7 separate regions of the Homo sapiens genome follow, and regions 1, 2, 3, 4, 5 and 6 are each linked to region 7. The links are contacts of gene promoters, found by promoter capture Hi-C in blood cells and fetal thymus (Javierre and others, 2016). All regions are on one chromosome and are shown on one strand. Each heading gives the region's core, a stretch centred on a gene start or on the middle of the fragment in contact. The rest is flanking DNA. Distances are from core to core; before and after follow the strand shown.

Region 1 (3,451 bases), core at 673-3,172, 220 kb before region 7:
CATTCAACTGGAGATCTTCAGTACTCGCCAGGTAAAGATGAGTCATTTACCCTCTTCTGCTGGTACATCAAATGGCTTGTTGGTCACATACACATATAAGAATAATGATCAGCTGACCAGGTGCTGTGGCTCACATCTGTAATCCCAGCACTTTGGGAGGCCAAGGTGGGCAGATCACTTAAGACCAGGAATTCAAGACCTGCCTGGCCAATATGGCGAAACCCTGTCTCTACTAAAAATACAAAAATTAGCTAGGCATGGTGGCGCGACTGTAATCCCAGCTACTCTGGGGGCTGAGGCTTAAGAATTGCTGAACCTGAGAGGCAGAAGCTTTAGTAAGCCGAGATGGCGCCACTGTATTCCAGGATAATGATCAGAACAGAGAAGACCTTTTTTTTCTTTTTTCTTTTTTCTTTTTTTTTTTTTTTTGAGACGAAGTCTCACTCTGTCGCCCAGGCTGGCGTGCAGTGGCGCGATCTCGGCTCACTGCAAGCTCCTCCTCCCGGGTTCACGCCATTCTCCTGCCTCAGCCTCCCGAGTAGCTGGGACTACAGGCGCCCGCCACCATGCCCATCTAATTTTTTGTATTTTTAGTAGAGACGGGGTTTCACCGTGTTAGCCAGGATGTTCTCGATCTCCTGACCTCGTGATCCGCCCATCTCGGCCTCCCAAAGCGCTGGGATTACAGGCATGAGCCACTGTGCCCGGTGACCTTTTTTATCTTTAATTTAATTTTTATTTGTTTATTTTTTTGTAGAGACAGGGTCTCACTATGTTGCCCAGGCTGGTCTGGAACTCCTGGACTCAAAAACGAGATCATTTTTACCTGAAGCATCCAGGATTAATTCTAGCAAAGGCAAAATATGTCCAGGAGTATCTAGCCTAAATAAAACTAAAGTCTCACATATAAAAATGCAGAGAATATAGAGGATGACATTCCACACAGAAATACAAAGATATATAATTATCTGCTATTAGAAATATCTGGTTGACATTTATTTATCTAATAGACAGTTCATTTTAACTATTCACGAAAGGCTTTTAAATTGTTCCAATGAATCTTATAGACCTTCCACCCACACAACAAGATATATTCTACTTGGAAGAATAAGTATTTTTATCCTTCCTCACCCATTATCCTATGGACTATATAGTCTAAATAGAATGCAAATATGTTATGTATTAAGTTTATATAGGGTATTACAGGGTGTTCCAAGATAAGAGAAATCATGTGGGCAGGGCATGGTGGCTCACACCTGTGATTCCAGCACTTTGGGAAGCCAAGGTGGGTGGATCACTTGAGCCCAGGAGTTCAAGACCAGCCTGGGCAACATGGCAAAACCCTGTCTCTACAAAAAATACAAAAATTAGCCAAGTGTGGTGGCGTGTGCCTGGAGTCCCAGCTACTTGGGAGGCTGAGGTGGGAGGATCACTTGAGGCCAGGAGGCACAGGCTGCAGTGAACCGAAATAACGTGGCCGCACTCCAGCCTGGGTAACAGAGCAAGACCCTGTCTTAAAAAAAAAAAAGAAAGAAAAGAAAGAAAGAAAGAAAAAGAAAGAAAGAAAGAAAGAAAGAAAGAAAGAAAGAAAGAAAGAAAGAAGGAAAGAAAGAAAGAAAGAAAAAGAAAGAAAGAAGGAAGGAAAGAAAGAAAGAAAGAAAGAAAAAGAAAGAAAGAAAGAAAGAAAAAAGAAAGAAAGAAAGAAAGAAAGAAAGAAAGAAAGAAAGAAAGAAAGAAATCATGCGGTTTCAGCCTGCAAGGAGCATGTTCTCCAAATGGGATATGTATAACAGTATCCATAATAGCAGCATAATGAGATAAACACCACAGGAGAAGTGCAAAGTGGCAAGAAAACATAGATGAGAGCAATTGCATCTATAAGTGCATATATATACACACATATTTATATGCACAAATACAAACTTTGACTTTTTTAGTTTCTTTCTCTGATTTAAAATTAGATTACAGAAATTACCTGGCTTTAATCAACCATCGTCCTCATGTCAAAGGAAATTCCAGCTGCTATGGAGTGTTGCCTACAGAGGAGCCTGTCTATAATTGGAGAACGGTAATTGTAAGTATCAGACCATCCCTTAATAACAGGCAAATATCCTATTCTTGCCAGCCTTCCATTTCACATACACTGTCTGAAACCCAGCTTAAAGACAGCATTGACTATGAAAATGGTTTTTTCTTTCTTTTTTTTTTTTTTTTGAGATGGAGTCTGGCTCTGTCACCCAGGCTGGGGTTCAGTAGCTCAATCTCAGCTCACTGCAACCTCTGCCTCCCAGGTTCAAGTGATTCTCCTGCCTCAGCCTCCCAAGTAGCTGGGGTTACAGGCGTGCACCACAATGCCCAGTTAACTTCTGTATTTTTAGTGGAGACAGGATTTCCACATATTGGCCAGGCTGGTCTCAAACTCCTGACTTCAGGTGATCCACCAGCCTCAGCCTCCCAAAGGGAAGGATTACAGGCGTGAGCCACTGTGCTCTACCTGAAAATGCTTTTTAAGGGCCATCAGCTGTAGTCTGAACTTGACAGTCAACATGGATGATCACATGCTGTTAGGAAGGAAATAACCCTTCATCATTGCTCTCTACTTAGCCTCAGACTGGTTTGGATGACTTCGTAAAAAGGAGGTGTTTTCAGGATGTTAATATCAGTTGCTTCTCCTTAGTCCATCTGGGAAATTGCAAAAAGTTTCCCCTAAAAGCCACAGGGCAAAGATCCAAACTGCCCCTGCACTGGTTTTACCTACAGTCTTGTATTAGACTGCTCTGTTTTCCTTCTCAAACTCAGTGTTATCTGCATGTATTGGACCAATTCATTGATATTTTATTAATAGCAGCATCTGCAAAGGGAAACACCCTGCCATCTCCCCATTCATGTATTCTTTTAGTTGTCTTCTTCATGCATCCATTTTATCAAGCGGTCTTCATGGGATGAGGTATAAATGTGAATTGGTTTTTATTTTTCTTCAGTCACTACCTTCAATCACACCATGTCAAATGTCCTTTTTCTGTTTCTATAAATTGTTCCCTTGGGGCCTCTTCACAAGACATTTTATTTTAAGAGAGTGCTTTGGGCTGGGCTCAGTGGCTCACGCCTGTAATCCCAAAGTTTTGGGAGGCTGAGGAGGAAGGATCACTTGAGCCCAAGAGTTCGAGACCAACCTGGGCAACAGAGCAAGACCCTGTCTCAAAAAAAAATTTTGTAAATAAAAATTTTAAATAGAGGGTGCTTTGGTTCCAGCTTAACCTCTTCCACCTCCACTTAGGGTTGCCAGGTAAAATGCAAGATGCCCAATATTTTGTTTGCTAAATCTGGCAACCCTTCTTCTTTCTACTTCAGCTCCCATTTTCTAGCATGTGCCTCACAGCCTCTTATCCCTGGGGACTCCTTGCCTGCTGGTCAGCCTTCTTGATTGGGGTGTGGAAAGACAGCTCAAGCC
Region 2 (3,842 bases), core at 415-2,914, 200 kb before region 7:
TCGCCCCATTTTCTCCTTCCTTATTGCTAAGGTCTTCTAGTCTTCTCTCTGGGCCCTCTTGCCACTTCCCTGTCTCTTCTGGGTCCTCTCACCCTCTTCTGCCAAAGCCAACATCAAAGAGCTGTGCAGGGGGTGAAGTTAGCACACCAGGGAGAAGGGTGACAGGTAAGTTCCTCTCTGAGCCACTTTCTTAGCAGTAACAATGGCTAACATTTACTTGGCACTTTTATATGGCAGGCATTTTGCTAAGTACTTTCCATTTTCTATTCACAGCAATCCTATAAAGTATGTGTTCCTTTTATTTTCATTTGGCTGGGCGCAGTGGCTCACGCCTGTAATCCCAGCACTTTGGGAGGCAGAGGTGGGTGGATCACGAGGTCAGGAGATCGAGACCATCCTGGCTAACACGGTGAAACCCCGTCTCTACTAAAAATACAAAAAATTAGCCGGGCGTGGTGGCGGGCACCTGTACTCCCAGCTACTCGGGAGGCTGAGGCAGGAGAATGGCATGAACCCAGGAGGCGGAGCTTGCACTGAGCCGAGATTGCGCCATTGCACTCCAGCCTGGGTGACAGAGCGAGACTCCATCTCAAAAAAAAATTAAATTAAATTGAATTAAATAATAAAAATCCACTAAGAATGCCTTGAGGCATATGCTACTTTCATGTTTTTTTACATTTTAATTTTGACTGGAGTCTTGCATTTGTCTTTTTTTAATTTTAATTTTGACTGCTTCTTTTTTTTTCTTTTTGAGACAGAGTCTCACTCCATCACCCAGGCTGTAGTGCAGTGGCGTGATCTTGGCTCACTTCAATCTCCACCTTCCAGCTTCAAGCAGTTCTTGTACCTCAGCCTCCCAAGCAGCTAGAATTATAGATGCATGCCACCATGCCTGGCTAATTTTTGTATTTTCAGTAGAGATGACGTTTCGCCATGGTGGCTAGGCTGGTCTTGAACTCCCGACCTCAAGTGATCCACCCACCTCGGCCTCCCAAAGTGTTGGGATTACAGGCATGAGACACGCCTGGCTTTTTTTTTTCTTTTCTTTTTGAGACAGTGTCTTGCTCTGTTGCCCAGGATGGAATGCAGTGGCACAATCTTGACTCACTGCAGCCTCTACTTCCCAGGTTCAAATGATCCTCTAGACTCAGCCTCTCGAGTAGCTGGATTACAGATGCCCACCACCAGATCTGGCTAACTTTTGTATTTTTTATAGAGATGGGGTTTCACTATGTTGCCCAGGCTGGTCTCGAACTGCTGAGCTGAAGCCATCTGCCTGCCTCGACCTCCCAAAGTGCTGGGATTATAGGCATGAGCCACCGTGCCCGGCCTGCTACTTTCATGTAAACAATTTCCTATGATTTCCAAGATTCAAATCCCCTAATTCTAGGTTTTTAAAGGTAGAGTATATCTAAGTTGAAATCATTCTAAGGCTCCTGCTGGCTAGCATCAGATGGATAACAGCCTGGTTTAGACTTAGCTTCTAATTTTTTTCAAGGGGTATAATAAATATAAAGTGCACTAATATTTACTGTATATTGTGATTGATGTATACACCCATATAACCAACATCCAGACCAAAATACAGAATATTCCTAGCACCTTCTAATGTTCCCTCACGTTGTTTTCCAATCTATACCCACCTTCTTCACTATCACATAAGTGAATTCATATAGTATGTAGTGTTAAGACTCCCTTTCAAAAAAAAAATCTTTTAAATATTTGGTAGAATTCAGTGGTGAAGCCATTTAGTTCTGGGCTTTTATTGCTGTTTTTTTTTGTTTTGTTTTGTTTTGTTTTTGAGATGGAGTCTTGCTCCATCGTTCAGGCTGGAGTACAGTGGCATGATCTGGGCTCACTTCAATCTCTACCTCCCGGGTTCAAGCGATTCTCCTGCCTCAGCCTCCTGAGTAGCTGGGACTACAGGCACATACCACCACAGTCGGCTAATTTTTTTGTATTTTTGGTAGAGACTGGGTTTCACTGTGTTAGTCAGGATGGTCTCAATCTCCTGACCGCGTGATCTGCCTGCCTTGGCCTCCAAAAGTGCTGGGATTACAGGCGTGAGCCACTGCGCCCGGCCTTTAAAAAAAAATAAATTACTAATGCACTCTCTTTATGTATCATAGGTTGTGGTATTATATTTTTATTTATTTTTTATTGGTGTATTTATTTATTTAGAGACAGGGTCTCACTTTGTCACCAGGCTGGAGTGCAGTGGCACCATCTGAGCTCACCCAAATCTCTGCCTCCCAGGTTCAAACAATTCTCCTGCCTCAGCCTCTTGAGTAGCTGGGATTACAGGCACACACCACCATGGCCAGCTAATTTTTGTCTTTTTAGTAGCTACAGGGTTTCGCCATGTTGGCTAGGCTGGTCTTCAACTCCTGACCTCAAGTTATCCTCCCACCTCAGTCTACCAAGGTACTGGGATTACAAGCATGAACCACTGCGCCCGGCCTTATATTTTTAAAAATTGGTCTTTGTTCTTCTTTCTTGGCATGCAGCTCCTAAAACCCTTCAAATTTCCCTGAGTGATAGGAGTATCTTTTTTATTTTATTTGATTTTTAGGAAGGTCTTGCTCTGTCACCCAGGCTGGAGTGCCATGGCCTGATCACGGCTCACTGCAGCCTGCCTTTGTCTCCCAGGTTCAAGCAATCCTCCCACCTCAGCCTCTTGAATACTTGAGACTACCGGCATGTGCTACCACGCCCAGCTCGTTGTTTATTTTTTTAGTAGACACAGGTCTTCCTATGTTGCCTAGACTGGCTTTGAACCCCTGGTCTCAAGCAATCCTCTGGTTTCAGCCTCCCAAAGTGCTGAGATTACAGGCATGAGCCACCATGCCCTAGCAAGGGAGTATCTTTTACTATTTTTAACAAGTCCCCTTTTACCACATGAAATTTATGCTAATGAGATGACTTAGGGTGGGGCCTCTAGATAGCCTAAGGATGGGGTGTGTCCCAGAAAGAGCCGGTGATTAAAGGGTGTGAATTTTCAGCCCCACCTACAGACCTGTGGGAAGGAGATGGAGATGAGATTGAGCTCTTTTTTTTTTTTTAATTTTTTAATTTTTTTTTTTTGAGAAAGAGTCTCACTCTGTCACCCAGGCTGGAGTGCAGTGGCGTGATCTTGGCTCACTGCAACCTCCACCTCCTAGGTTCAAGCAATTCTCCTGACTCAGCCTCCTGAGTAGCTGGGACTACAGGCACCCGCCACCACACCTGGCTAATTTTCGTATTTTACTAGAGATGGGCTTTTGCCATGTTGGCCAGGCTGGTCTCGAACTCCTGACCTCAAGTGATCCACCCGCCTCGGCCTCCCAAAGTGCTGAGATTACAGGTGTGTGCTGAGATTACAGGTGTGAGCCACCATGCCAAGCCAGAGATTGAGCTCTTTAGAAACTCTTGAACAATGAGACCGGGAAAGCTTCAGCCTGGCGAAGACATGGACTTGCTGGAAGAGTGATGTTAAATTAAACAGCTGGTCTCTATTGTTTCAGGTGTCCCAAATTCCTTCTAGATGTCCAGAATAAATTATAGGAATTTGGACCAATTGAACAAGTGGGCAGTGTTAGTGCTTGTTCAGACACCTGGTCACTTTGAGGATTTGTTAAGACACAGTCAGGTGTCCAGTTGATGTACATGTGGGTTGGGGGACCCTCTTAAGGTGTGAAAATATGGATCCAGGAGTCTGTTACAACTCCAGGTTTCAGTGGGCACTGAGATCCCCTATTAAGACATTATTAAGAACTGTATTTCTTAACGTTTCTTGACCACAAATCTAAGCTCAAGATACCTTAGATTTGCCCTTGCAATATGAAGAAAAAGTGTTTTGAGTT
Region 3 (3,852 bases), core at 698-3,197, 240 kb after region 7:
TCAACAACTTTTTTCCTTGTGTGCATTTGTTGAGACGTTCAGATGCCTGGGGCTGCAATACCATCTATGCATAATGAAAAACATTCATAAAGACTTTCTAAAGTACACAAAGGGTGATGGGCTTTCTGAACAGCAGCCATGGACTTACACCAAAATATAGTCTCCATGAGCAAAGGCAGTGGGAAAGAGCCTTTGCACAGTTCCATGGTAGAGAAGATGGTTATAAAGACTGAGTGGTGTTCACATTATCTGAACCTCAAACTCAGGCACATAGCATATGAGGGAACTTATGGAAACAACGGGACAGCTTGTCTGATGTTGGGAAACCATCTTGGCATCGCTGGTTACCATATTTATAGAGCTAATCTTTAGCATCAAGACCTACTCTAGACAGGCTAATTTACTTACTGCCACCCAAGTGGCCCATGTTGGTTTTATCCTTGGCATATGCCACAAGTTCTGAGTGTCAAATATTTCTTCCTCCCTTTATCTGTTTTCCATTCACATCCTACCCATTCTCCAGGTCCAACTTTCTTACCTCCTCCAGAAACCACTGTTCTGTCTAATCTGCCACACCTGGCATTTCGTTATTCATTCTAAGAATGGCAAATACATGTCATATAAGCACGTACCCACTCTCCACACATCCGTGACAGACATCACTAATTGATGGTGGTGCTTTTTCCTTGTGTAGCTGGCAAAACCCTCAGAATTCTTCCCAACACAGCACTGGAGGCAGCCACTAAAGGCTGATTGGAGTTCTGTGAAGCCTAGTTGCTGTCTCTGATCTATCTATTCCCTTATATCGCTATTTAAAGTTTCTGAGCGTGCTTGTCTTCTTTCTCCAGCTGAGCTAAGTCCCTGAGGGCAGGGACCATGCCTCAATAATCCTAACAATAACAATCCTAACAACAATAACAGCAGTGGCAAATATTCATTGAGTACTTATATGTGCTGGCACTGTGCTGGCCATTTAACATGTATTATCTAATGGAATCCTCAACAATTCCTCTGGAGGGGGTATTATTACCCCCACTTTATAGATGGGGAGTCTGGGTCTTAGAAGATGATAAGCAACTTGTCCAATTATACAGTCAGGATGTAGCAGAACCAGAACTTGACCCCCAAATATTTTCTTTTATCCAAAGTAGTGCATTATCTTGACCTCCTCTGTATCTGTGCATAGTAGGTGCTTAATGCAAATTTGTTGAATAGGAGCTTTTTAGAAAGCAATGAAGTTCTTCACAAGAGACAGAAAGAAATTGAATTGAAAATACCGGAAGCAAATTCTCTTCCCCAAGAAGTTAGAACATTCTTGAAAAAAGGTTTACTAAACTTTTCCAACATCCTTGGCTAAAGGCAACACCATTCCCCATTCCACAAGTAAACACGCTTTATGGATACAGAAATACTAAAGGCCAACTCCAATGAATGGGAGGGATCCTGGTGAGGAAGTGGCCTGGGAGCCTCCTGACAGGGGCCTTGCAGTGTCTACTACCACCCAGTCACTGGCACCTCCCTGGGCCTCAGTTTCCAGACTTCTAGAACGATTCATTTGGACTTGATTAGCACTTCCCAAGTGTGTTCCCTGGAATATTGGCCCTGCAAGAAATTCATATAAAAAGCGGTTCTGTTGTCAAAAGCACGATTGGGAAATTGCCTTTCCCTTGGGAGAGACACAGTCCATATTAAATGCTCTGAGAAGGCCAGCAGGAAAGAAGCTCCTTATTTAATGTTACTTAATTCTTATTTAACCCAGCATTTCCTAACCCTCTTTGGTTTCACATAATAACAGCAAATATCTCTCATAACTAATCCCATACTTGGTAAAACAAAACAAAACAGAACAGAACAAAACACACAATTGGCTGAATAGATTCTAAGGACCTTCCCTCACATTCTGTAAGTTTATGAAATAATAATATAAGTTGACTATAAACTTCCCCTCAGTGAATTAAAGGTGGAGTCACAATTTTGGATTTTTGAGATGCATCCAAAAGGTTTAAAGCGTTTTAAGATAAGGAACCAAAAGTTTAGTAGTTCATGCTGCCTGGTTATTTTCGCAATATGAACAACAGGGGGCACCAGGGGACTGTAGTATGGCCACCCCTCCACAAACTCAGCAAGAAAGGGCAAACCAAAGTTGTAGCAAACGGAGGGAGGGATTTCAGCAATTCCTTTTCTAGCTGAATGGAAAGCTACTGAGAGCAATTTGGGTTTCTCTCTGGCTTTCTGTTGGAGGAATACAATGAGATAGAATCAGGATAGGTTAACATCTTTCTTTTGCTCATTCCCTTTATAGATAGAAAATCACATAAAGCAACTCTTTTCAACAACTGCTTGTCAATGGTTTGTTTCCACCTTGGGGCAACTACATTCCACTGTGGAAGTTCTTATTGAAGAAACATAGCGCCTATGAGTTGAGAAATGAGTGGTTCTTTCCTTCACCAGCTTTCTCATTTTAAAGGGGGAATAAATTGCACATGTGAGGAAAAGAACAAACTTCTTTAGGACATAAGTTCTTTGTAATTTAAATTTTTTCTCTAGACTTTGGGCTCAAGACTTATACAATAAGACTCTTTTTAATGATGTGGCAGGCTATAAAAGGATTGGAGGCAATTGAGAGAGAAGAGGAGAGGAGGGAAGGGGAGAGGAGGGGAAGGGAGGGGAGAGGAGGGAAGGGAAAGGGAGGGAAAGGGAGGGGAAGGGAGGGGAGGGGAGAGGAGGGGAGAGGAGGTTATTACCAGCGAATACTGCCCCTACACAGAGCCTCCCACGTATGTGGATATATCACATAGCTTTTTCTCACTTATCATGTCTTTATTGTTCTCTTGTGAAGTAGAACAAGACAGACAGGTCTCCCTATCCAAGCCAAACACAAGAGACTTACAGAGCCAAACACAAGAGACTTAAGGTAATTGTCAGCAGCAAATGCTCAGGTTGGTTATTTTTTTCTCTGTATCTTCCCTTATTACCCGCCAACACAGCCCCTACGCAGAGCCTCCCACGTAGGAGAAGACTTTACATATACTTTTAAAATGTTTTCCTCAAGAGAAAGAGAAAACAAGATCCAGGAATATAGCCCACAGAAACCAGCAAAGGACAGAGGAATCACTCTCCACCCATAGCAATCACCAGCTCAGAGAAACTCTGAGTTTGGAGAGTCTTTTGCATTCACCTAATTTCATCCTTGCATTATGTACAGGAGAGGACCAGGGAGTCATGCAGAGAGGTACCAGCCCGGCCAGTCCGGGAGCTTCTAGACAATTGTTCCCCAAAGCAATGCCCTTCCCACCGCCCTGTGCTGGACCCCAGTCTCAAGCCCTTAAGAGACTTCAGGTGCTTATCTCTGCAGGCAGCAAAGTGCAGGAGCAATAGCCACATCCCATCCTAATTCTACACACTGCAGTGTGCGACTTGTTTTTGACAATCCCATTCTTGTCCCAGTGAGAACAATGGAGAAAATAGCATGTAAGGGGATATTGCTAGACCAGCAAACAAAATGCATTTGTCTGTCTGATTTGTGATCCATTTCTACTATTCACCTCTCAAAGAAATGCTGGGAAGAGCTTGGAAGCTAGCAATTAAGCAGTTCAAACTCTTTGGAAAGTTTCTAGTGCCTTAGAATTCCAGGAAGTGCTGAATCATAGAGTCGCAGAATAGGAAAAGATTTGTAAGACAAGAATAAAATGAATATTTATTGAACACCTCCCATATTATTGGATATATTTTGTCTCAACCTCACAGTCACTCTCAGAGGCGGGTGTACTGTGATCTCCTGTTAGAGGAGGAAACTGAGGGTCAGAGTGGTTAATTGGAACTGGTAAGCTAGGATTTGAACTTAGGTCTATT
Region 4 (3,846 bases), core at 788-3,287, 190 kb after region 7:
CCTGCAGAGTTTTTCACTTACCTCCTTTGTTCAAATGTTATCATCTTGATGAGACCTGCCCTGATCACCCTTTTTAAAAATTGCACCTGACCACTACTGGTCTCCATATCCAGTCTTATTATTCACCACAGCACGTATCACCTTCTAACAAATCATGTGATTTAACTTATTTATTATGTTTATTTTCTGTCTCCCTTCACTGGATTGTAAGGTCCATGAAAGCTCTCAATATTTGCTGAATGAATATTTCTGAATGACTATTTCTTGGGTACTCACTCTTTACCCCAGGACAGGGCAGATCCCTTAAGGAAAAGCTTGACATGGCCATTCTGTTTGGTGGCTAGTCAGTGATTTGAAAGTCCTTAGGATGAGTTTCCTTTTACATTCTAACATTGTTCAGTCATTCTGATGGTCTAATTTTTTTTTTTTTTTTTTTTTTTTTTTTTGAGACGGAGTTTCCCAGGCTGGAGTGCAGTGGCGCGATCTCGGCTCACTGCAAGCTCCGCCTCCCGGGTTCACGCCATTTTCCTGCCTCAGCCTCCCGAGTAGCTGGGACTACAGGCGCCCGCCACCCCTCCCGGCTAATTTTTTGTATTTTTTTAGTAGAGACGGGGTTTCACCATGTTAGTCAGGATGGTCTCGATCTCCTGACCTTGTGATCCGCCCGCCTCAGCCTCCCAAAGTGCTGGGATTACAGGCGTGAGCCACCGCGCCCGGCCCCTGATGGTCTAATGTTTTTAGCACAGTTGAACACTTTAAATAAGAGCCACAACCATAAGGAGGACCTCTCCCCAGTATGGCATTTAGAATCAGCTTCCTTATCAGATACTTTCTCCTTGTAACATTGTTATTCTTCAGCATATTGGATAAATTGGCAAATGGCTCTTATACACATGAAAAGATACTCAACTTTATGAATAGGAATAAATATTCAAATTAAAACTCACTGATGCCAGTTGTGATCTAGTGGGTTAGCAGAAACCCAAATGTTTGATACTAGTACTGGTGAGAATATGGGGAAACAGTCTCTCTCATACATTGCTTACAGGAACGTGAATTGATTTCAGTCTCCATGGTGGGACTTGGGCAATATCTATGGAAATGACAGATACACACACACCCCCCCATCATTTGATGCAACAGCCTTTTTTTTTTTTTTTTTTTTTGAAATTTATCCTATAGGTGTACATGCCCATGTGAAGAATGGCATTTCTGCAGAGTTACTCAGGGCATTGCTTTGAATAACAAAAGATTGGAAACTACAAATGACTATCAGTAGAGAATTGCCTAAATAAATATGGTTTATTTATTAAAGGATACTTCAAGTGAAAGCTCTCTGTACCTAGCAGATTTTTACGTCAATACACTTATATGGAAAAATCTCCAAGATACATTGTTACATGGGAAAAAGCAAGATGCAGAACAACCTATGCTCTCGTTAGTTAAGAAAAAAGAGGAGAAAAATAATATATATTTGCATTAGCTTGCATAAAGAAACTAATGAAAGTGGTTTATCTGTGTGTGATGGAGGGAGGAGTAGGTCAAGGTCAGTGAGACATTGGCAGATGGGGAAAAAGGATAATTATAAGGCATACTTTTTTGTTTTATTTTTTACCCAAATAGGTTTTTTTTTTTTTTTTTGAGATGGAGTTTCACTCTTGTTGCCCAGGCTGGAGTACAATGGCACGATCTCGGCTCACCACAACCTCCGCCTCCCGGGTTCAAGCGATTCTCCTGCCTCAGCCTCCTGATAGCTGGGATTACAGGCACGTGCCACCACACCTGGCTAATTTTTTTGTATTTTTAGTAGAGACGGGGTTTCACCATGTTAGCCAGGGTGGTCTCGATCTCCTGACTTCATGATCCGCCCACCTCGGCCTCCCAAAGTGCTGGGATTACAGGCGTGAGCCACTGCGCCCCGCATGAATGTTTCCTATCAGAAAATTAAATTAAAAACATGAGGCCGGGCGCAGTGGCTCACTCACGCCTGTAATCCCAGCACTTTGGGAGGCCAAAGCAGGCGGATCACGAGGTCAAGAGATCGCAACCATTCTGGCCAACATTGTGAAACCCTATCTCTACTAAAAATACAAAAATTAGCTGGGCATGGTGGCATGTGCCTGTAGTCCCAGCTACTCAGGAGGCTGAGGCAGAAGAATCGCTTGAACCCGGAGGTGGAGGTTGCAGTGGACCGAGATTGTGCCACTGCACTCCAGCCTGGTGATAGAGCGAGACTCTTTCTCAAAAAAAAAAAAAATAAATAAATACAAAATAAAAACATGGGACCAACCACCGTGAGATATAACAAGTTAGAATAGCATAAAGTGATATTTCTTATTCTGAAACCATTAACAAAAGCATATCAAAAGGAAGGACAAATAAAAGCTAATCTCAAAAAATTAGTTTAGATTTGCACTCGGGTGTGGTGCCTTATGCCTGTAATCCCAGCACTTTGGGAGGCTGAAGTGGGCTGATCACTTGAGTCCGGGTGTTTGAGACCAGCCATGGGCAATATGGTGCAACCCTGTCTCTACAATACATACAAAAAATTAGCTGAGCGTGGTAGGATGCACCTACAGTCCCACTTACTCAGGAGCCTGAGTGGGAGGATCACTTGAGCCTGCAGTCTGAGGCTGCAGTGATCACTCCAGCTTGGGTGACAGAGTGATACCCTGTCTCAAAAAAAAAAAAAAAAAAAAAAGATTTGCACACGGCCACACCCACATTCTCAAGCCAAATCATGCTTAACTTGTTATAGTTTCTTATCAAATTATTAACTTTTTCCAGCTGATAGATCACTGTCTTCCATCTTCTTTTTGGCATGTGTCTCCTGCCATGATATCTTGCTCATGATATTCTGTGATCCTTTACTCTTCAGTGTTGCCGATTCTAGATCCTGGCTTTTCTCTTTATTAGCACGTCTCACTTTCCATGTGAATACAGTTTTGTGGGATAGATTGTGGCCTTTGGCCACCCATATTGTCCTACCTCATGACCCCATAATCTCTGCTCAGTAGTTGATGACAGAAAACTGGGTCACCTAGAATCAAGCCACTTTAAAAGGAGGAACAAAATTGCAGAGTAAATGAAGTAAAAGAAGTTTGGTCAGGTCTTTAACTTCAAAAATGATACTAAAAATTAGGAAAATAACGATTTTAACTTGCATTTATGTAACAATCACAAATTTTGGGTTATGACAAGTGTGTGTTAAATCTTCAGATGCTGATCTTTATAGAGAAAATGTTTTTTTTTTTTTTTTTGAGATGGAGTTTCACTTTTGTTGCCCAGGCTGGAGTGCAATGGCGCAATCTTGGCCCACTGCAACCTCCTGCCACCTGGTTCAAGCGATTCTCCCACCTCATCCTCCCGAGTAGCTGTGATTAGAGGCATGTGCCACCACGCCCGGCTAATTTTGTATTTTTAGTAGACACGGGGTTTCTCTATGTTGGTCAGGCTGGTCTTGAACTCCCGCCTTGGCCTCCCAAAGTGCTGGGATAACAGGCGTGAGCCACCACACCCAGCCTTGCATTCTTTTTCCAATACAATTTTATGATTATATTATAGTAAGTCTTTCATTTCACATTTAACTTTAAAGAAAGTTTCCTTCTTCTCTTTTTGTTTGTTTTTGATAAACCCTTGTGTCAAGCGCTGACTTTCAGTAGCTCAAATCGAGGGAGGGAGCTGCTCTGCTACTACGAAACCCTGCCCCAGAAGCAGGTTGTCTGTGAATGGTTTAACACCAGGTTTCCCATGAACCACATTAAGCTTTTGAAGGGGGATAGGAAGAGGTTCATTTTTGCAAAAATGTCTGAAGACTCCAATTTTCCCACTGGACTTTTTTTTTTT
Region 5 (3,576 bases), core at 270-2,769, 250 kb before region 7:
TCTCTACTAAAAATAAAAATAAAAAATTAGCTGGGCATGGTGGTATGTGCCTGTAGTCCCAGCTACTTGGGAGGCTGAGGCAGGAGAATCGCTTGAACCTGGGAGGCGGAGGTTGTGGTGAGCCAAGATGGTGCCACTGCACTCCAGCCTGGGAAACAGAGCAAAACTCCATCTCAAAAAAAAAAAAAAAAAAATTAGCTGGGAGTGATGGTGGGTGCCTGTAATCCCAGTTACTCAGGAGGCTGAGATAGAAGAATCGCTTGAACCCAGGAGATGGAGGTTGCAGTGAGCCAATATGGTGCCGTTGCACTCCAGCCTGGGCAACAATAGTGAAACTCCATCTCAAAAAAAACAAAAAAACAAAAAAACAATTGCATTGAATCTGTGGATTGCTTTGCGAAATATGGTTATTTTCACAATGTTGATTCTTCTTTCAATTCATAAGAATAGGACATATCTCCATCTGTTTGTATCATCTATGATTTCTTTCAGCAGTGTTTTGTAGTTCTCCTTTTAGAGATTTTTTACCTCCTTGATTAAAAGAGATCCTTTCACCTCCTTGGTTAAGTATATTGCTAGGTGTTTGTTTTGTTTGTTTATTGTTTTTTTTTTGCAGCTATTTTACTTTTTTTTTTGAATCAACAAAATCAGAGATTTATTGAAAACGAAAAGTACACTCCACAGGGTGGGAGCGGGTCCTAGCAAGCAGCTCAGGAGCCACTATTATTATTGTTACTTTTTTTATAGAGACAGGGTCTCGGTATGTTGACCAGACTGGTCTCGAACTCTTGCCCTTTCACCTCCTTGGTTAAGTACATTCCTAGTTGTTTTTTTTTTTTTTTGGCAGCTATTTTATTTTATTTTTTTTGCAGCTATTTTATTATTTTTTTTTATAGAGATGGAGTCTTGCTATGTTAACCAGGCTGGTCTTGAACTCCTGGCCTCAAGTGATCCTCCTATCTCAGCCTCCCAAAGTGTGAGGATTACAGGTTTGAGCAACCACATCCTGCCTTTTGCAGCTATTTTTAAAGAGATTGAGTTCTTGATTTGATTTTTAGCTTTGTTGTTGTTGATGCATAGCAGTGATACTGATTTGTGTACATTGATTTTCTTTTTTTTTCTTTTTTCTTTTTTTTTCTTTTTTTTGGAGATGGAGTCTCTCTCTGTTGCCCAGGCTGGAGTGCAGTGGCACGATCTCAGCTCACTGCAACCTCCACCTCCCAGGTTCAAGCAATTCTCCTGCCTCAGCCTCCCGAGTAGCTGGGATCACAGGCATGCACAACCATACCTGGATAATTTTTGTATTTGTTTTTTTTAGTAGAGATGGGGTTTCACCATGTTGGCCAAGCTGGTCTGGAACTCCTGACCTCAGGCAATCCATCTGCCTCAGCCTCCCAAAGTGCTGGGATTACAAGTATGAGCCACTTCACCTGACGTGTACATTGATTTTGTACCCTGAGAGTTTACTGAATTCATTTATCAAATATAGGCATCTTTTGGAGGAGTCTTTAAGATTTTCTAGGTATATGATTGTATCATTGGCAAAAAGATAGTTTGACTTCCTTTTCCAATTCGGATGCCCTTTATTTTTTTTTCTTGCCTGATTGCTCTGTCTAAGAATTCCTATTTACTTATTTACTTTAGTTTTCAGAAAACCATAGGTAAAAAGCTAACTTTCAAATTTCTCTTTTTTTGCAGGCATGCTTCTTTTTTTTTTTTTTTTGAGATGGAGTCTCACTTTGTTGTCCAGGCTGGAGTGCAATGGCATGATCTCAGCTCACCACAACCTCCACTTCCTGGGTTCAGGCGATTCTCCTGCCTCAGCCACCTGGGCTGGGATTACCAGTGCCTGCCACCATGCCTGGCTAATTGTTGTACTTTTAGTAGAGATGGGGTTTCGTCATGTTGGCCAGGTTGGTCTCGAACTCCTGACCTCAGGTGATCCGCCCCCTTTGGCCTCCCAAAGTGCTGGGATTACAGGTGAGCCACCGCACCCTGCCACAGGCATGCTTCTTTTGCAGACCAATATAGAAAACATAGAATACGGCCACGTGTTGTGGCTCACGCCTGTAATCCTAACACTTTGGAAGCAGAGGCAGGTGGATCACCTGAGGTCAGGAGTTTGAGACCAGCCTGGCCAATGTGGTGAAACCCCATCTCTACTAAAAATACAAAAGTTAGCCGGGCGTGGTGGTGCATGCCTGTAGTCCCAGCTACTTGGGAGGCTGAGGCAGGAGAATCACTTGAACCCCGGAGGCAGAGGTTGCAGTGAGCAAAGATTGCACTGCTGCACTCCAGCCTGGGTGACTGAGTGAGACACTCAAAGAAAAAAAAAAGAAAGAAAGAAAGAAAAAGGCAATACAGAATAAATGATTTAATATATGTGAGATGCTTAAAACTTAAAACAATGCTAGACACATAGTACGTTCTCAATTAAGGATAGCTGATTTTTGAAAAGTGATAAAATATAAATATTAGCTGAGCAGAGTTGAAATTGACCCTCACTTAATCTATAGTTATCTCAGAACAGGTAAGGATCCATTGCAAAGTGTTCTAGGGACCTAGAACTTCATTCAAAGCGTTAGAAATGTTTACCTGGCAGGTCATGGAATTGGGAGACTGGTAGTTCTATGTTCAAATCACTAGGATTAGTAAACTTTTGAATGCTTTCGTTGTCAAGTTGGACTTTGTTCTGACATTCCTGGGTAGTCTAAGTTCCTTAGAACCAACCACAGCTGATTATTTTTCTTTTTTCCATTATTTTTTATGTTGTATTTTATTTTGAGACAAGGTCTTATTCTGTGGCCCAGGCTGGAGTGCAGTGATGCCATCTTGGCTCACTGCAACCTCCGCCTCCTGGGTTCAGGCGATTCTCTTGCCTCAGGCTCCAGAGTAGCTGGGATTACAGGTTCACGCCACCATGCCTGGCTAATTTTTGTATTTTTAGTAGAGATAGAATTTTGCCATGTTGGTCAGGCTGGTGTCGAACTCCTGGCCTCAAGTGAGCCACCTGCCTCGGCCTCCCAAAGTGCTGGAATGACAGGCATAAGCGACCACTCCCATCCTGTTTTATTTTTTAGAGGCAGGGTCTTGCTCTGTTGTCCATACTGAAGTGTGATGACACAATCATAGCTCACTGCAGCCTCAAACTCCTGGGTTCAAGCCATCCTCCTGCCTCAGCCTCCAGAGTTGCCGGGATTACAGGCACACACCACCACACCCAGTTCCAATAGCAGGCTATTATTATGTGCGCCCAGAAGGAAAGAACAATGGAGAAAAGCGTGAACTTTAGAAGGTCACTGTGCTTGGTTCCACCACCTCCTAGATTTTGACCTTGAGAATCTGTGTGACTTGATTTCCTTCATTGCATCATGGTACTGATACTACTAATTACCTGGGGGTAAAACTGTCGGGCAGATTAAAAAGAGCTAATACATCCAAAGTGCTTAGAACGGGAAACACCCAAGATATTCTAGATAATTGATAAATGCTAGCCCTCTTGTTATGGCTATGCTAAGTACGCCTGTGGTGACCAAGTCTTCCTGGTTAACCTGGGACTTTTTTTGTTGTTGTTTA
Region 6 (3,544 bases), core at 410-2,909, 170 kb before region 7:
TCCTGCCTCAGCCTCCCAAGTAGCTGGGATTACAGTCATGTGCCACCACGCCTCACTAATTTTGTTTGTTTGTTTGTTTGTTTTTGTATTTTTAGTAGAGACGGGATTTCTGCATGTTGGTCAGGCTGGTCTCGAACTCCCGACCTCAGGTGATCCACCTGCCTCGGCCCCCCAAAGTGCTGGGATTACAGGTGTGAGCCACCACACCCAGCCAACATCACCAAATTTCTAAATAAAGATCAAAACACTTCTCATGTTAAACATTGAAACGAATGTAAGCTATACCTATGTTTAAGAAGAATTAATAAAAACAGGTAAGATAATGATTTACCCAATTATTTCAGTTCAGGGTCTCAGGAGGCTGGAGCCTGACTGAGGCACTCAAGGCACAAGGCAGGTACCATCCCTGAACAGGACACCATTTCACTGCAGGGCACACTCACAACCACACCCATACCCACTCCCACACCCACGCTTACTCACCCTGGGACCACTCAGTCGTGCCAGTTAACCTAACATGCACACATCTTTGGAATGTGGGAGGAAACCGAAGAACCTGAAGAACATCTATGCAGACATGGAGGGAACATGCAAATTTCAGACTGCAGCCCCAGCTAGGAAGCATTTTTTTTCCTCATCAACGTTATAAGGAAACGATGTTGAAAGAAAGGACATTTTGTGAGGACCTGGTGTACTGAGATTCTTCTATACGTCATACAGTCACACTCTCCTACTCTAGGGTCAAGAAAGAAACCATTCAGCCAGGCTGGGCATGGTAGCCCACGCCTGTAATCCCAGCACTTTGGGAGGCTGAGGCGGGTGGATTGCTTAAGGTTCGGAGTTTGACACCAGCTTGGCCAACATGGAGAAACCCCGCCTCTACTGAAAATACAAAAACTAGCCAGGTGTGGCAGTGTGTGCCTTTAGTCCCAGCTGCTTGGGAGGCTGAAGCAGGAGAATAGCTTGAACCCGGGAGGTGGAGGTTGCAGTGAGTCAAGACTGTGCTACGGCACTCCATCCAGGGTGACACAGCAAAATTCCAGCTCAAAAAAAAGAAAAAGAAAAAAAAAAAAGAAAAAGAAAGAGAAAAAAGGGAAAGAAAAGAAAAACCATTCAGCCTCTCACAGTGTGTGTGGGATGCTTAATTTTGTTAAAGACCTCCCCCCATACTCCTGCACTAATATTATATTAATAATTGGCACCAACAGAATTTCAATGAAACATTCCATAAACTGCCAAAAGAGATGAGGTCTCAGCATATTGCCCAGGTTGGTCTCGAACTCCTGACCTCAAGCAATCCTCCAGCCTCAGCCTTCCCAACGTGCTGGGATTACAGGTGTCACCCACCACAGCGGGCCCAAACTTCTTTATTAATTTAAATGAAAATTGCCCATTCATTTATTCAGCCAACATTTATTGAACCCCACTGAGCATTGCGAGGAACACAGGACAGATGAGGTCCCCGCTTTCATGGATCTCATTTTCTAGAATGGAAAGACAGATCATGACCAAATAAGTAGTTAAACAAAAATGTCCTAAGTGCCCTTCAGAGAATTCAAAGTGGAACATGGAATCAAGATGGTGGAGGGGGTCCATGTTACATCAGGTAGGCAGGGAAGGCCTCCCTAAAGAGATGATCTCTGCATTGAGACCTGAAGAATGAGCCAGTCATGTGAGAAGCTGGGGGCAGCATGCATGTGATGAGAGAAAGAATGAGATGAGACGAGCTGGAGGGCAGGCCTTGGAGGTCAGGGCTGGAGTGTGATTTGATCCTAAGGGCCATAAGAAGGATTTTAAGAACTTTGAAGGAAGCTAACAGGGGGAATAACATGGTCTCAATACTGAGGTCAGTTGCCTCCCCTGCCTGGTTATTTATTTTGTGTATTTTGCTATTATGTCTTTTCCCCTCCTGCCACCCTGAGTATCAATCCACTGATACCTGCCACTACTCAGGGATGCTTACGGCTTTTCATGTTAAATGATGATTTTCTTCTTTTGGAGAAAACTCAGCAAGCACAAATTCCTCCTTAAATTTTTCATGGTACTTTTTTTTTTTTTTTTGGACAGAGTCTTGCTGTGTTGCCAGGCTGGAGTGCAGTGGCTCAATCTTGGCTCACTGCAACCTCTGCCTCCCGGGTTCAAGTGATTCTCCTGCCTCAGCCTCCCAAGTAGCTGAGACTACAGGTGCACACCACCATGCCCAGCTAATTTTTGTATTTTTCATAGAGACGGGGTTTCACCATGTTGGCCAGTATGGTCATGGTCTCAATCTCTTGACCTCGTGATCCACCCACCTCAGCCTCCCAAAGTGCTGGGATTACAGGCTTGAGCCACTGCGCCCGGCTGGTACTTTTAATAATTGATCTAGCATCCTTTCTGCTATTAATGGGTAACAAAGTCTGCATCCTCAGCAAAGGTTTGGTTTGCTAGGAATAAATGACTTTACCATTTGTGACATCCTTCTAAGGATTTAGGTGGAGAATTGTTTCTGGGGAACCCAGATTTAGAAAGAGAACATGGAGACAATTTGTGGCTCTACTTGACCTTGGTCAAGCCCTTTACTTATGAGCTTTGGGGATGTCGCCCATAAATGAGGAAAACATGATAAGTCACCTTCAATACTTCTTGGTAGAATTAAACACACAAATATCATTAGAATATATTGCATTCTGTGTTAGTTTACTGAAGCAAAGTGTTGCAAACTGAGTGGCTTAATGACAATAATATATTATGTCACAGTTCTGGAGGCTAGAAGTTCAAAATCAAGGTGCCAGCAGGGTTGGCTCCTCCTGAGGGCAATGAGGGGAGGATCTGCTCCAGACCTCTCTCCTTGGCCTGCAGGTGATCACCTTCTCTCTGTGGATCTTCATGCATGGCAACACTCATGTGGATCTTCTCTCTGTGTCTTCCTTCTATGCATGTCTGTCTCTCTGTCCAGATTTCCCCTTTTTATAAGGATACCAGTCATATTTAATTAGGACTCACGCTATTCTAGTATGACCTCTTCTTAACTAATTACATCCCTATCGACTATGTTTCCAAATAAGGCCACATTCTGGCAGGGCATGGTGGCTCACGCCTGTAATCCCAGCACTCTGGGAGGCCGAGGTGGGTGGATTACCTGAGGTCAAGAGTTCGAGACCAGCCTGGCCAACATGGTGAAATCCCATCTCTACTAAAAATACAAAAATTAGCTGGGTGTGGTGGTGGGTGCCTGTAATCCCAGCTACAGGGAGGGTGGGGCAAGAGAATCACTTGAACCTAGTAGGCAGAGGTTGCAGTGAGCCGAGATCATGCCACTTCGCTCCAGCCTGGGCAACAAGAGCAAAACTCCATCTCAAAAAATTTTTTAAAAATAAAAATACAAAAATTAGCCGGGCGTGGTGGCGGGTGCCTGTAATCCCAGCTACTGGATTGCTAAGGCAGGAGAATTGCTTGAACTTGGGAGGTGGAAGTTGCAGTGAACCAAGATTGCTCCACTGCCCTCCAGCACAGGCGACAAGAGCAAAACTCTGTCTAAAAAGAAAAAAAAAAGAAAAGGAAA
Region 7 (3,649 bases), core at 1,051-3,550:
AAGAGATGATGTAAGTCCTGAGTGGAGAAGAGTGGGACTGGGTGAGATTTCATCACGCTACTCAGAATGGCATGCAATTTAAAACTCACACTTTATTTCTGGAATTTTCTATTTAATATTTTTGGACTGTGGTTGACTGTGGGTATCTAAAACTGCAGAAAAGTAAAACCAGGGACAAAGGGAGACTACTGTATGGAGAAGTGTTGTTTGGGAGTTTTGGAGAGGCACCCCAGTTTGCTCACCAGCCAGTGATATCTACTTTTTGTTTTTCCTGTCCTCTTACTCCTTCCTGCTGCTTGAAACACAAATAAGATGACTGGAGCTTCACCAGCCATTCTGAATCATGAGATGGCCTTATAGATACAAGTCAGAGAGGATATTGGAGCAGAGAGACAGAAAAGCCTGAGTTCCTGATGACCATGGAAACATCGTACCAGTCTTGGAGTGCCAATTCTGTACTTCTTTTATGTGAGAGAGAAATAAATTCCTGTTGTCTAAGCTATTCAGTCTGTGGTATTTTGTTATGACAATCCAAGCTGACTAATACACCTGCTTCTTTTTTTTTTTCAGTCAACATATGCTTGTGCAATTCACTCATGTTCATAAGTGCACCCTGGAACATTACCATGTTCCAGGGCTTCTCCTATAGAAACAGAACATAGCCCAGTTGATTATTTTTTATTCTGATTGATTTTTAGGAGTTCTTTACATAATCTGGGTTCTACTCATTGTGGGTTTTGAGGGAAATACCTTTTCCCAGTTTATGGCTTGTCTTTTCATTCTCTTGATGACGTCTTTTGATGTACATTAAAAATTATCTTTAATACAGTGAAATCGGCTAATCTAGAAAAGGATTTTTTCCTTGGACTGTTCATGGCATCGGTAAATTAAAAAGTAGTTACTGTCAAGTTCACTGCACATAAACCAGCATTGTTAAAAGTGGATCTCCATCATTCCATTTCCTTTCCTGCATTTGTCAGCATCGTTTTTCACACTAAAGATGAGGAGATCCATATTCCTAAGACATATACGCTTGGTCTGTAGAGACCCTCATTGCTCTAAGGCAGTGGTTGCCAGTTTTTTCCTTAAAGGGCCTAGTAGGACATAGTCCAGGCTTTGCCAGCCATACGGTCTGTCACAACTGAATTCTGCTGCCCTTGTAGCATGAAGGCAGCCAAACAATAGGTAAGGAATAAACATGGCTTTATTCGTGGCACTGAACTTTGAATTTCATATAATTTCACAACACAAAATTGTATTCTTTTGATTTTTTCCAATCATTTAAAAATGTCAAAACCATACTTAGCTGGAGGGCTGTAGGAAAACAGGTGGTGGGCTGGGTCTGGCACACAGGCAGCAGTTCGTGGACCCCTGTGCCAAGTGTTTGACGAAGCCCGTGAGGCAAACTGCACTTGCCGATAGAGGTTGCGCCACACAAGTGTCTTGGAAGCAATTTCTGGCTTGTCCTAGGCCTTAGAAAGTGCGTGCAGATCAGAGCCATGAAGTGAAGAGCAAAGCAAGTGACAGGCCTGTCTCAGGTTGTGCAACAGAACGTGTTTATGACAGATGTCCCCTGTCCAAGTGAGTGCACTGTGAGATAAGGGGCCGGTGACCTACCAATGCGTGTGGCAAGCCAGCCTGTTCCCCCTTGCAGGGGGAGGACACTCCTGCCCTTTATTCCAGGGAAGAGTATGTGTAAAAATATTCACCCTTGTTGGTATCAAATGCGCTGAAGAAAATAGGTATCGGGGTTTCAGCCATTCGGTCTCCTTGTTAGTGTTTCTAAGCCCTGATTTTCAGTTTCAAAACCTTGGTCTCTGAATCCGCAGTGATGGGTCTCTAGAGCGAATACATGGCAGGGCCGCCTTCCTCCGTACAGAAAGGGAGAATTGTGCTTGTGTGTTTTACCAAGCAGGACAGATGGGGCCGTCACCCCCGTGACCCGAGCCCTGCAAAACTGTGTTCTCACACGAAAACCCCCAGGCTCTGCGGGCAGCGTGGTCCTGCAGTGGCTAACACTGGGCGACCGGAGTCGTGTTCCGACCCCTAGGAGAGGAACCGGCTCGGTCGTGGTGCAGCCCGCGAGGAGACGACCTCAGGGCGTAATCCGACGCCGTGGGTTAAGACATCAGACCTCAGGCGCAGTGCAGCCGGCCCCTGGGGAGTCAAGGACCTTGATCGCCGATAACAAGTTGCCGTTGGCGGGCGCCGAGGGTGACCCGCGAGCGCGGCACCCGCCTCCCCGCCCCTAGCAGGACCCCCTCCGCCCCGCCCCCAGCCGGACCCCTCCCCGAGGCCCCGCCCCACCCGCGAGCCGCAGCCGCGGCCCCACAGCTTCTGGGGCTGGGGCCCCGGCAGCCGGGCAGGCCGGCCTGACCTCGACCTCCGCCGTGCGGGCCCGACCGGTGAGTCCAGCCCGGCAGTCGCAGGACCCGGCCGCCAGCCTCTCCCTCCACCTCTCCCTGCCCCCAGCGCCAGGCGCGGGCTGCGCTCGGTGGCGGCGGCGGGGCCCTCAGGCGGCCATGGCGGCAGGCGCCGGGGCCGGGTCCGCGCCGCGCTGGCTGAGGGCGCTGAGCGAGCCGCTGAGCGCGGCGCAGCTGCGGCGACTGGAGGAGCACCGCTACAGCGCGGCGGGCGTCTCGCTGCTCGAGCCGCCGCTGCAGCTCTACTGGACCTGGCTGCTCCAGTGGATCCCGCTCTGGATGGCCCCCAACTCCATCACCCTGCTGGGGCTCGCCGTCAACGTGGTCACCACGCTCGTGCTCATCTCCTACTGTCCCACGGCCACCGAAGAGGTAGGGCTGGCCGATCGCCCGAGCCGGGCCCCAGATGCGCTGCGGGCGGGTCGCTGGAGGCGCCGGGGGAAGGGCGGACCCACGCGCGGCTGAGCCTCTCCCGGGCCCCGGAGGGGCGGACTGGCCACTGCCCCGGGCGGTGTCCGCCCTGGGCCGCCTGGAGACTGTCACGCCACTATCCCAATCCCGTGACCATCCCAAGCCTCCCCTGGGCAGCGGAGGGGCTGTTAAGGTCACTGCCCCAGGTCCTATGTCCGCGCAGATCCTCCCCACGGCCGCGGACGGGCCGGAGGGCGCCTGCCCAGCCGCTATCCCATGCGGCGCCAACCTGTGAGACGGACCCGCGGTCGGGTGCTTTGCACACTGGGGACTGAACACCCCCATCTCCGTCCTGCCTGGCACAGGGACTTGTGCCAAGCCCGAGACGCCCTTTGAATACTTTCGTAACCGTTCGTTTCTGGAAGGTTGAGCTAGTGATCTTGAAATGACCGGTAGCACTGATCAAAGATGAGTTAAGAGGTAACTTCCTCTTTGCTTCATCGACTTTTTCAAGAAAAACAAACTGGAATGTTATCAAGGCAATAATTTTTTTGTCATCACAACCTAGGGATTAAAAAAACCCCAACATTTTATTAGCAATAATTACATTTGACCTTTGTACAAAATAAGGAGTAAATATAGGCTTTGGATAGCTGTTCATCAGAAGCACCCTTTGGGCTGAGTGTGGAGGGATAGGGGGCAGAGTGGAGTTCACTCCCATCTATAGTTTATACTACGTGGGATAAATATTACATTGCACATTCTGTGACATTACTTTCTATTCTCTGCTCCAAATAGTGAAGTCCCTTTATAAT

What was found. The method cuts DNA at HindIII sites, captures the fragments that hold promoters and counts their contacts. A CHiCAGO score of 5 or more calls a contact.
Region 1: a fragment that was not itself captured here is called in contact with the fragment with the promoter of CHPT1 in region 7 in 2 of 17 cell types (M1 macrophages and neutrophils); the score reaches 7.6 in M1 macrophages.
Region 2: a contact is called between a fragment that was not itself captured here and the fragment with the promoter of CHPT1 in region 7, in 1 of 17 cell types (M1 macrophages). The highest score is 5.0, in M1 macrophages.
Region 3: a fragment that was not itself captured here is called in contact with the fragment with the promoter of CHPT1 in region 7 in 1 of 17 cell types (neutrophils); the score reaches 6.7 in neutrophils.
Region 4: a fragment that was not itself captured here is called in contact with the fragment with the promoter of CHPT1 in region 7 in 1 of 17 cell types (neutrophils); the score reaches 5.4 in neutrophils.
Region 5: a contact is called between a fragment that was not itself captured here and the fragment with the promoter of CHPT1 in region 7, in 1 of 17 cell types (M1 macrophages). The highest score is 5.2, in M1 macrophages.
Region 6: a fragment that was not itself captured here is called in contact with the fragment with the promoter of CHPT1 in region 7 in 2 of 17 cell types (M1 macrophages and total B cells); the score reaches 6.5 in M1 macrophages.

What each region holds. Positions count from the first base shown.
Region 1 is chr12:101,477,621-101,481,071 of GRCh38, forward strand. SPIC (Spi-C transcription factor) reads left to right here. Exons shown (of 6, transcript NM_152323.3): 3 at 1-31; 4 at 1,962-2,074. Among named protein-coding and RNA genes, the nearest start is that of SPIC, 4.0 kb to the left of the region's middle. The HindIII fragment of the contact is 3,188 bases long and covers 329-3,451 here.
Region 2 is chr12:101,494,108-101,497,949 of GRCh38, forward strand. No RefSeq gene overlaps it. Among named protein-coding and RNA genes, the nearest start is that of SPIC, 21 kb to the left of the region's middle. The HindIII fragment of the contact is 3,528 bases long and covers 1-3,428 here.
Region 3 is chr12:101,937,879-101,941,730 of GRCh38, forward strand. No RefSeq gene overlaps it. Among named protein-coding and RNA genes, the nearest start is that of DRAM1-AS1, 24 kb to the right of the region's middle. RefSeq lists an enhancer at 1,953-2,247. The HindIII fragment of the contact is 6,116 bases long and covers 1-3,852 here.
Region 4 is chr12:101,881,691-101,885,536 of GRCh38, forward strand. The region is part of intron 1 of DRAM1 (DNA damage regulated autophagy modulator 1); the gene reads left to right. Among named protein-coding and RNA genes, the nearest start is that of DRAM1, 6.0 kb to the left of the region's middle. The HindIII fragment of the contact is 3,451 bases long and covers 313-3,763 here.
Region 5 is chr12:101,450,477-101,454,052 of GRCh38, forward strand. No RefSeq gene overlaps it. Among named protein-coding and RNA genes, the nearest start is that of SPIC, 23 kb to the right of the region's middle. The HindIII fragment of the contact is 4,497 bases long and covers 1-3,576 here.
Region 6 is chr12:101,522,596-101,526,139 of GRCh38, forward strand. No RefSeq gene overlaps it. Among named protein-coding and RNA genes, the nearest start is that of SPIC, 49 kb to the left of the region's middle. The HindIII fragment of the contact is 5,218 bases long and covers 1-3,544 here.
Region 7 is chr12:101,695,340-101,698,988 of GRCh38, forward strand. It overlaps CHPT1 (choline phosphotransferase 1), which reads left to right and starts at 2,301. Exons shown (of 9, transcript NM_020244.3): 1 at 2,301-2,795. The coding sequence starts at 2,523. It also overlaps a transcript of MYBPC1 not described here. RefSeq lists an enhancer at 1,775-2,024 and silencers at 2,245-2,584, 2,845-3,034. The HindIII fragment of the contact is 18,657 bases long and covers 1-3,649 here.